3 separate regions of the Homo sapiens genome follow, and all the other regions are linked to region 3. Evidence: promoter capture Hi-C in 16 types of primary human blood cells and fetal thymus (Javierre and others, 2016). All regions are on one chromosome and are shown on one strand. Each heading gives the region's core, a stretch centred on a gene start or on the middle of the fragment in contact. The rest is flanking DNA. Distances are from core to core; before and after follow the strand shown. Region 1 holds the start of NR1I2 (nuclear receptor subfamily 1 group I member 2). Region 2 overlaps CFAP91 (cilia and flagella associated protein 91). Region 3 holds the start of CD80 (CD80 molecule).

Region 1 (3,074 bases), core at 443-2,942, 220 kb before region 3:
ACACAGACACAATGGTCTGGCAGTAAATATATCACACTAAGTACTTTTGGGGAAACTGGAGATTAGGATTGACAGAATGGCCAAAGGTGAATTTAGGTTTATCTATACTGCTTTCTCATTTTCAAGGAGCATGAAATCATGTATTACTTTATAATTTAAAAAGTTATTACCTAAAAAACCTAGTCTAGTCAGTTTTGTGGTTGTCTTGGGTTTATTCCATAATAATTTTGGAACAAGTTGACAGCTTTTAGATCAGGAGTTGGCAAACTTTTTCTGTTAAAGGCCAGATAGTTAATATTTTAGGCTTTGTGGGCCATACTGTCTCTTTCGCAATTGGTCAATTTTGCTGACTCAATGAATCAGCTATAGCAGGCACTATTCCTCTCCCACATGGCCTCTAATGATATGGCCAGAGTTGAAAGGATGTTGTAGGGCAAAAACAGCCATATACAATACATAACGAATGGGCATGGCTGTGTTCCAATAAAGCTTCATTTATAAAAACAGCTGGTGGGCCAGAGTTAGCCTGTGAGCCATAGTTTGTCAACCCCAGGTTTAGACTTTTATGACATAACTAAAATATTTTTAAAGCGTATTTGTGTACCACAAAATACTTTTTCCCATTAACCAACTGATTAAATAAGCCTCTGAGGCCTCCCTTAGCATCCTTTCAACTCTGACCATATCATTAGAGGCCATGTGGGAGAGGAATAGTGCCTGCTATAGCTGATTCATTGAGTCAAGACTCAGTGGCCTCAGAGGTGTCTGTTGACCTGTCCTAGATATGGAGTGGCCTTAAAGCAGTGCCTCTGGCCATAGCTTCAGCCGAGCTGGGCTGTAAAGTGGAGAGAAGAAGGACCTGGTGGCACTGACCACATGCAGGCAAGACTCGGTTCTGTGGGACAAGGTGCCCTTTCAATAGTAGAGGTAGAAAACTCACTGGTTTGAAGCCAACTCAGCCGCAGCACTGTGCAGGGGTATGGCAGGTGCTCTGAGGGACCCCTCCTTGAAGTGGTGAGTCCTGGTGACTGTCATGCTGCTGTCCTTGGCCTCAGGGGGCTGCCAGCACTAACCCAGCAGGCCAAAAGGAATCAGGACTGAGTTGATCCCAGTTCCCATAGTCCCCAGCTCCCACAGTCCTTGGAGGTGGTATTTCCTGGGTCCAGGGACTCCAGCCCTGTAACAGGGAGCTGGTTGTATGTGTGACTTGTGGTAACTCATGCAGTAGTTAAGGCTTCTCCTGTGGTGATTTTTCTAGGAGGCTAGTGCAGGACCAGAGAGCATCAGTAATGGGGCTCAACATTAAGTGATTGTTTTCATGCTTTTTTTTTTCCACCCTAGAAATGAGGAGACAGCAGCAAGGCCAACATGATTCACGACCCACTATGATGCTGACCTCAAACAGAAGGTATATTTGTGTTCACACACATCTTTTGGCTGGAGCTGAAGGGCGGTCAGCCCCCAGCAAAAGAGAAAGAAAGAAAAACCATACCTGCTTGGTGGTAAGTTCTTTGCTCCGACTTCTCCCCTGGGGTCCACTTTGAACAATCCGGTGCAAAGGATCGATCAAGGAGTAGCTTTACCAAGGAGCCGCTGCCTTGTTCAGGACAGGAGTATTAGCTTATTCTCTTGCTTTTCTCACTGTGAACACTTGGCTTGCAGGCTGAGGCCGAGATTCCCACTGAAGTAAAGGCAGTGCTTCCTCTTCCCGTCCTAGTCATAGGTTATGATTTCCCCGGATATGAGACAATCTTGTCTCTCACCTATATTTCAGTCCAAGTCAGATGTAGGCACTAAGCGGCTCCATTGCCCCTCCTAAGTCCCAAGTCCAGCACTTGAACTAGCAAATGAAGAGATTACCGTATTTGTTCTCATTATGTTCTCCCTACTTTTTTCTTTCAGGTCTCTTCACTACAAAAACACAGGAAAAGGGGAAGAGAGTGGCAAATATCCGCTTTGTCTAAGTAATTCTGAGTGCATTTCATCAGTCTGAGGGTCTCTGTCCTTTACCACTAGGGGCAACATTAATTTGAACCTAGATCTCCTTATACTTCCTCCTTTGTTGAAACCACCTCCCTGGATAGTGTTACTTGATGTGAAAGTGAGCAAAGTATTGATTTATGACGGTGCCAATCACCAGCATGGTTATGTAAGAGGGGGGCAGGCACACAGGGAGAGGGAAAGGGTGTGAGATGAGGGGGCTGAGCACAGTTCTCGAGAATGTGACCCCACCACTTTGATCTCAGAACAGAAGGCTGACCAGGAGTGGGGAGGATGGACCAGCTGAGGGCTCTTTCCTCTCCCGGGTCCTGCCAGAGGGGAGCTGAAGAGTCCTCACTCTTCAGCCTCAACCTTCTTATTCCCTAGCAGCAGGTGCTCCCAAGTGAACAGAATCAACAAAAGCCGAATGTGGTGGATACCAGGATGTGTTTCTTCTACTTGCTTTGTTTATAAAGATGCTTTATGGCAGGTGAGGGGAGTGGAAGTAACTGCTCCTACCTAAAAGGCAAACAAGTACAAGCCTCTGGCAACAGTAAAGCAGGGGCATGGGCCCCAACAAGAGAGGGAGAGGGAGACCACGATTGAGCAAACAGGTAGAAAAGAGAACCTGGGATTGCCAAAAAATGACCACAGTTGTCTTCAGGTGAACATTTGGACTTCCTTACATTTATTTATTGACTTAAGTTGTTATTATTTTGAAGTACATGCTTTAATCCAGCCCTGGTGAGAAAAGCCAGAATATCTAAGTATGATTTGTTTGTTTTGTTTTTAATTGGTTTCTTCTCTATCCAATTTGCACTTCCCAAGGGATGAGAAAGACTTGAGGCTGGGATTTCCTAGGGGTTGACATTTCTCAAGTGGATGCTTGCCTTGCTGTTTTCAACCAAGCGCAGAATGTAAGGTGCTTACACAGCTCACTGCTGGGGACTTACTGCCAGCAGTGGGGACTGGGACCCACAGCCATAGAGCTCTGTCCTTTTTCCAGTCACATTTCTGATTATCCACATGGGATTCTGCTAGGGCTAGGAGGTATTGGATTACAAATCCCACTGGACAGAAAGTTGACTTGGGCC
Region 2 (3,230 bases), core at 162-2,661, 150 kb before region 3:
ACACAAGAATAGCAAAATATTAAAAGACAATTTTTTTTTTTTTTTTTTTTGAGACAGAGTCTCGCTCTGTCACCCAGGCTGGAGTGCAGTGGTGCAATCTCCACCTCCTGGGTTCATGCCATTCTCCTGCCTCAGCCTCCCAAGTAGCTGGGACTACAGGCACCTGCCACCACACCCGGCTAACTTTTTGTATTTTTAGTAGAGACGGGGTTTCACCGTGTTAGCCAGGATGGTCTCAATCTCCTGACCTCATGATCCGCCTGCCTCGGCCTCCCAAAGTGCTGGGATTACAGGCGTGAGCCACTGTGCCTGGCCAAAAGACACTTTTTCTATGTCCAGGTTAAAAGGCTTTATAATTTTTAATTTACTAAATGTGAACTTGTAAGTAATTAAAAGAATAAAGAATTCGACTTATTCTTGAAGGTGCTTTGGCCCCAAGTTCCCAAAAAATATTTTAGATACTAGCAGAACAGAGCACTTTCAGTTGCTAAGTTGGATCCAAGCAACAACAAACTCAATCATCCCTACCTTTGGTGGCAAGTTGTCATTATATATATGACAAAATTATATATATATATATATCTCATATATACAATATATAATCAGGTTTGTTTGGTCAAAAGAGGTTTAGAAAGAAAATTTGGCCTAGGTATAACACCACAACTGAACATTTTAAAACCACACATGGTAAATGAATTTAAAGAAATGCTTTTAATGCATTTATTTTAGGCCCTGGAGCCACCCGACACTTACGTGGTGAGCTGCCGGAGGGCTTCTCTGTGTTTCTCCTTATGTCCCTTCCATTCCCGACTGATAAATGGTGGGACAGGATCTGACTTGCTCCAATATAGAGAATATCTTGGATAATGGATCAGGTTACTGAACATGGTTTTAAACCTGGGAACTTTTCTCTAATGTTAGAGAAGGGAGGCAAAGGACAAAATTATACCATCAGCTTTTCTAAAGCATTTTAATTACATTGTAAACTCTTTTTAAAAACATACAAAACAATGTATACAGCATAAGAAGAGGGGTTATTGCTGTATGCGTAAAATATCTTTAAATACATGCCCAAGAAACTGATGACAATGGCTGTTTATGTGGAGGGGGTAGGGGATAGGGCTAGAATTTACTTCACACTGTATATGCTTTTATACTACTTGAATTCTTTTAACATGGGCATATATTATTAAATTTATCCCATTGAAATAAATTAGCTTATGGGTTCTCTGTTCATTATTGGTGACTTAATCCTCACAATGAGCCACACGTATTAAGATGCTTTGCCCTCCAGTAATCTTGGCAAGGTAATTTCTGTGGAACCTAAAATCCAGTGAAGATTTGGTGATTAGTCAATCTGATCAATGCAGTCAGGCAAACTAGATGGTTCAGGTTCATCAGGTAGCCTTGGCTGATGAATTAGACATACCAGTCTGCTGCGAATCAGGGTAGCTTGGATATTTGCCTGTGTATGGTCTTTCTCACTTGACACAATAAACAATGGATCTGCAAAATAAACAATCAAGTAGCATAACAGATAGAACATATCTACCCCTAGGCTGAGAATAATGGCAAAGTAATGTAATCTCTTAATTGGAAAACAAATTTAAAAGTTTAAATATTGTCTGACTCTGCAGCAGCTCATGCTCTGTTGTGCATGTGGCCCTGTTACTCTACCACTTCTACCAGCAACAGTTGTCAAGATGTTTTTCTTTTCTGAGTATTCCAAGTCAGCTTACGGAAGTGGAATTCATAAAGAAAGTCTAGCATGTTTTCAAGTACTACACCCTGAACACACTTTCTTCTCTCCTATGAACAAAACTCCTTTTGAGCCTGGGTAACCCAAAAAATTCTTCAAGGGAAAGACCTTGTATATACGCACTATGCCAATTTGCAAGTGAAAGAAGCAATACATTTATACCATCTCCCATATTTGGTGCACTAGAAAGATGCAAACCACATGATATCTCAGAATTGGTGAACACGGTTAAAAAAAAAATCAGCTATCTTCAGAATTCACCCCTTAAGTTTGTAAGTTTGCTGATGATGGAACTGTTATTTTTACAAAGTTCAACAAAATATTGCCCTGCTATTATAAGTATCTGTTTATCAGGTATATCTTTAAAGTGATGAAGAATATTCATGATTGACTATACTGTACCACCCTTTAAAATCAACTGATTTGCCATTAAATTAACAAGCAGCCTTTGGATACACTTGATTTCCCAAGTAGACTTGTCTCTGGGGAGGCAAATACCCTGACCAGCTAGTCTAGATAACATGGTAACACATATTTCTCCATAGAAATTAATAATTTGGGAATTGTGATTTAGAAACAAGTCTCTTTTGAATTTGGATAATGTGTGTCAATTCCTAAAACCTAATAATTCATTAGTAACCCAACAAATACGATTTACTGAATGCAGACATTGGATATTCCCACCAAGGCTGAAAAGCTGCAAGAGGCTCAGGCTCTTTTTGCTCCTTCATTCAACACATGTTTATTGACTGGCTACTCTATCTAGGTGCTTAGAATACATCAACAAAACGACAAAAATCTTTGACTTCATGAGAGAGAGACAACAAACAACAAACATAATAAACTAGCAAATTACACATTAGAATTTGAGGGTTGTTATTTTTAAAAAAGAAGAAATCGGGTAAGGAAGATTGGGTTGCAATTTTAACTAGGGTGGTCGGGGCAGGCCCTTGAGAAGGTGGCATGTAAGGAGACTTGAAGGTGAGGGAGTTAGCTAGTTAGATATCTGAAGAACATTCTAGGATGGGAGCATGCCTGATACATCTGAAGAACAGCAAAGTCCCTAGGATGGGAACATGCCTGATACGTCTGAAGAATAGCAAAGAAACCAGGACAAATGAGGCAGAATGAAGGAGGGGAAAGAGAGTAGATAAGAGGCCAGAGAAGTAACTAGGGAACTAATCACATAGGGCTTCATAAGGAAGGGTAAAAGAACCTGGAAAGGTGTTCATCTTTGCACCACCACAGTTCTGTCAAGGTGGAAACCTGGCCCAAGGCCAGTCAATTCATTGGCCAGCCAACAACCAATCTTAAATTTCTAACTTAAATTTTCAGCTACAATACACAAAGACGCTATACAATTGGTGGTGAGCTTTAGGGCTAATTAGTCAAGAAGCACGCCACCCTAGTCCCTATCATAGTAAGAGAAATCCATACACAAGAGGCTTTCTGTCAGATGGAAGGAAGCAAG
Region 3 (3,239 bases), core at 347-2,846:
GTAATCCCAGCACTTTGGGAGGCCGAGGAGGGTGGATCACAAGGTCAGGAGTTTGAGACCAGCCTGGCCAATATGGTGAAACCCCATCTCTACTAAAAATTTAAAAATTAGCCTGGCATGGTGGCACACGCCTGTAGTCCCAGCTACTCAGGAGGCTGAGGCAGAAGAATTGCTTGAACCCAGGAGGCGGAGGTTGCAGTGAGCCAAGATTGCACCACTGCACTCCAGCCTGGGCGGCAGAGAAAGACTTCATCTAAAAAAAAAAAAAGAAAATAAATTTCTAAAACTCTGTATTTCTTTGCTCTTTTAAGTTGACATCTATAACTTTCTATTACTTTAAATACCTGGAAAAAAAATCACTTCCAGTGCATTGTAATAATGTATCAAGTAGAAGTGGCTAAAATCAGTGAAAACATTTCTTTGATCTGAATAAATGTTCAAGAAAATAGAAAACATGAACTTACCTCCAATCTATGTTCCCTTTACTTGAAAATGTAATGTTGATCTACTAGAGGTAAGGCAGGAATTGTCACATCCATATTCCTTGCAACTATTCAAAATATGCATCTGAGACCAGAACAAGACACAGGTGAAGAAGGGTGCTCACTAGGCCCCTTCTGCCAATACAGAAGGAGACAGTGCAGTGGAGTCCTTTCATAGCAAGTTCTGCCTTCATGATTTCCAAAGCTTCAGTATTCCAAATCTCAGGTGAATAGGGTGGTATCCACTAAGCTCTGCCACAAACTTGTTGCTGAGATGAAGGAAGCCGCCGCTGTAGTCAGTATTTCTCACCCACACGGTTTGCTCTCTTTCTGGCTGGTGTGGGAAGGATGGCGTCTTTTTTTTTTTTTTTTTTTTGAGATGGAGTCTTGCTCTGTTACCCAAGCTGGATTGTAGTGTTGTGATCTCGGCTCACTGCAACCCATGCAAGGTGCTGTCAGGTTCCACCTGTGCAAACAAGTACACTGGTCCAGCATGGGTCAGCTGCTCACTCACAGGGGCTCCAGAATCCTACAAAGGGACACACAGGGGTGGGTGGCAACCTAGTTGGAAATGGGAGTGATGGGCATGACTAAAGTCTTCCTCATCCCACCAGAGGCGCACTCAACTGTGGCTAGGGTGACCAGAATTCACTGTCCAGCGTGGCTGGCAGGAGCCCACTCTCTGAAGATGGTGGGATTCAGAGGTGGGAGTAGAGTTGGGTGGTCCTGTGAGCTGAGCACTCTCCCAAAAGTGTCCCCTACATATGAGGTTGACAGCTTATTCCTGCAGGGACTCAGGAGTAACTCTGGGTGCTAAAACAAAACTTGAGACCAGCACAGAAACAGCCAGCCCATGAAGCTGGCCTCCCATCACACAGCAAGGCTAGCCAGATGCCCCTCACTCTTCTCGGGCACCATTCTTCTCCTCCCCTAGGCCGCCTGGTGCTCGTGGTGTTTCATGTTTGTTAGTCCATGCACGGTGGTGAGGGAGGCTGCTGTGTGATTTGCCCCAGCCACAGCCTCTACAAAAGCAACTAGAAGAAGACGGCAGCAGAGGGCGCTTCTTCAAACACCCTGTCCAACTCCTGGCACTGACAAGTACTGAGTGAACTCAAACCCTCTGTAAAGTAACAGAAGTTAGAAGGGGAAATGTCGCCTCTCTGAAGATTACCCAAAGAAAAAGTGATTTGTCATTGCTTTATAGACTGTAAGAAGAGAACATCTCAGAAGTGGAGTCTTACCCTGAAATCAAAGGATTTAAAGAAAAAGTGGAATTTTTCTTCAGCAAGTAAGTACATTTACTATTATCTTACTATGGGATAGCTTGGTAGAACTAGTTACCAGCAACCTCACTGCTTTTTAAACAAACAATACCTCTGCTACCACCTCCTGGATCCAGGCTTGCCCTCAAAGGAACCCTTAGGGTCTCATTCCCACAGGAGGCTGTGGCTTCCCGACATATTTGGAGCATCATAGTGAGAATTGTGGCCCATTATTTTAAAATATCCTAGATCCTAGCAAATATTGTTTTTGTGGGCCGTATTTGAATTTCTCAAGCCAGTAAAATTCTAGTGAAAGTGGGAAAATCGCTTGAGCTCGGGAGGTTGAGACTGTGGTGAGCTATGGTCACGCCACTGCACTCTAGCCTGTGTGACAGAGCAAGATTCTATCTTAAGAAAAACAAATTCTGGTGAATAAGTCTCTTTTAACTAATCCTGTCTAAAATGGATGATGGCTAATAAAACAATATGGCGTGGCTGGAACTCTAGCTCTAGGGTGGTCTCCAAAGAGGACACTCAAGCATTCTCTGAGCAGCACGGGGCTGTGTCCTGGTAGCAGCCTGAAGGGGTGACAGTGGAGCACAGTGTTTATTTTCATTTCTCAATTTTGACATATTTACTGGAAAAATTAATCCCTAGCCACCTCACATGACAGTACATAATTTTTTTTTTTTTTTTTTTTGAGATGGAGTCTCACTCTGTCGCCTAGGCTGGAGTGCAGTGTTGCAATCATCTTGGCTCACTGCAGCCTCCACCTCCTGGATTCAAGCAATTCTCGTGCCTCAGCCTCCCAAGTGGCTGGGATTACAGGCACCCACCACCACACCTGGCTAATTTTTGTATTTTTGGTAGAAATGGGGTTTTGCCATGTTGGCCAGGCTGGTCTGGAACTCCTGGCCTCAAGTAATCCGCCCACCTCAGCCTCCCAAAGTGCTGGGATTACAGGCGTGAGCCACCACGCCTGGCCCTGGAGTACATAATTTTGATAAGTAACGTCTGCAGTGTCTTTTTTTCCCTCCCTTTTTATGGATAGACTTTTCTGGTTATTGAGATCTCATACCCCTTTATGATATATTATTTGAGTAGAGGGTTTAAAGAATTGAGATACTTGTTTTCTTATGTTAATATGTCAAGAAAGAAGTTGTTTCATAACTTAGGTCCTGCCTTGGACAAAATACACCCTTACTGTCTGCTCTATGTTTCTTGGTATGTTCAGAAGAGGATTTGAACTTTTGCAGGTTGGCTAACAGATATGGAGGGTCCTTAGAGCTCTCCTGTTTCTAACCAAATCTTCACCCCACCTATTAAGTAGAAAGCCTTTTCATGGAAGGGCTGTGGTTGGTTCTTGGAACTGGTCCCCTCACAGAATTTCCATTCGCTTTTCCTCAGGGTCACGCCCTGCTTTAGAGGTTGCTTAGGTTAAGCTCTCCAATTAATTTTAGCAGGCAACTCGAGAGTTTTGCAACTCAAAGTAGGC

Evidence for each region. The method cuts DNA at HindIII sites, captures the fragments that hold promoters and counts their contacts. A CHiCAGO score of 5 or more calls a contact.
Region 1: a contact is called between the fragment with the promoter of NR1I2 here and the fragment with the promoter of CD80 in region 3, in 11 of 17 cell types (neutrophils, erythroblasts, M2 macrophages and 8 more). The highest score is 13.0, in neutrophils.
Region 2: a contact is called between a fragment that was not itself captured here and the fragment with the promoter of CD80 in region 3, in 1 of 17 cell types (monocytes). The highest score is 6.4, in monocytes.

What each region holds. Positions count from the first base shown.
Region 1 is chr3:119,780,719-119,783,792 of GRCh38, reverse strand. NR1I2 (nuclear receptor subfamily 1 group I member 2) reads right to left here and starts at 1,692. Exons shown (of 9, transcript NM_003889.4): 1 at 1,493-1,692. The HindIII fragment of the contact is 6,406 bases long and covers 492-3,074 here.
Region 2 is chr3:119,705,085-119,708,314 of GRCh38, reverse strand. It overlaps CFAP91 (cilia and flagella associated protein 91), which reads right to left. Exons shown (of 18, transcript NM_033364.4): 2 at 1,430-1,506; 3 at 754-911. Among named protein-coding and RNA genes, the nearest start is that of CFAP91, 3.7 kb to the right of the region's middle. The HindIII fragment of the contact is 4,731 bases long and covers 1-3,230 here.
Region 3 is chr3:119,557,971-119,561,209 of GRCh38, reverse strand. CD80 (CD80 molecule) reads left to right here and starts at 1,596. Exons shown (of 7, transcript NM_005191.4): 1 at 1,596-1,770. LOC107986118 (a long non-coding RNA gene) reads right to left here and starts at 780. Exons shown (of 2, transcript XR_001740861.2): 1 at 465-780. RefSeq lists enhancers at 1,323-1,372, 2,143-2,202, 2,473-2,632, 2,994-3,239 and a silencer at 2,994-3,239. The HindIII fragment of the contact is 26,007 bases long and covers 690-3,239 here.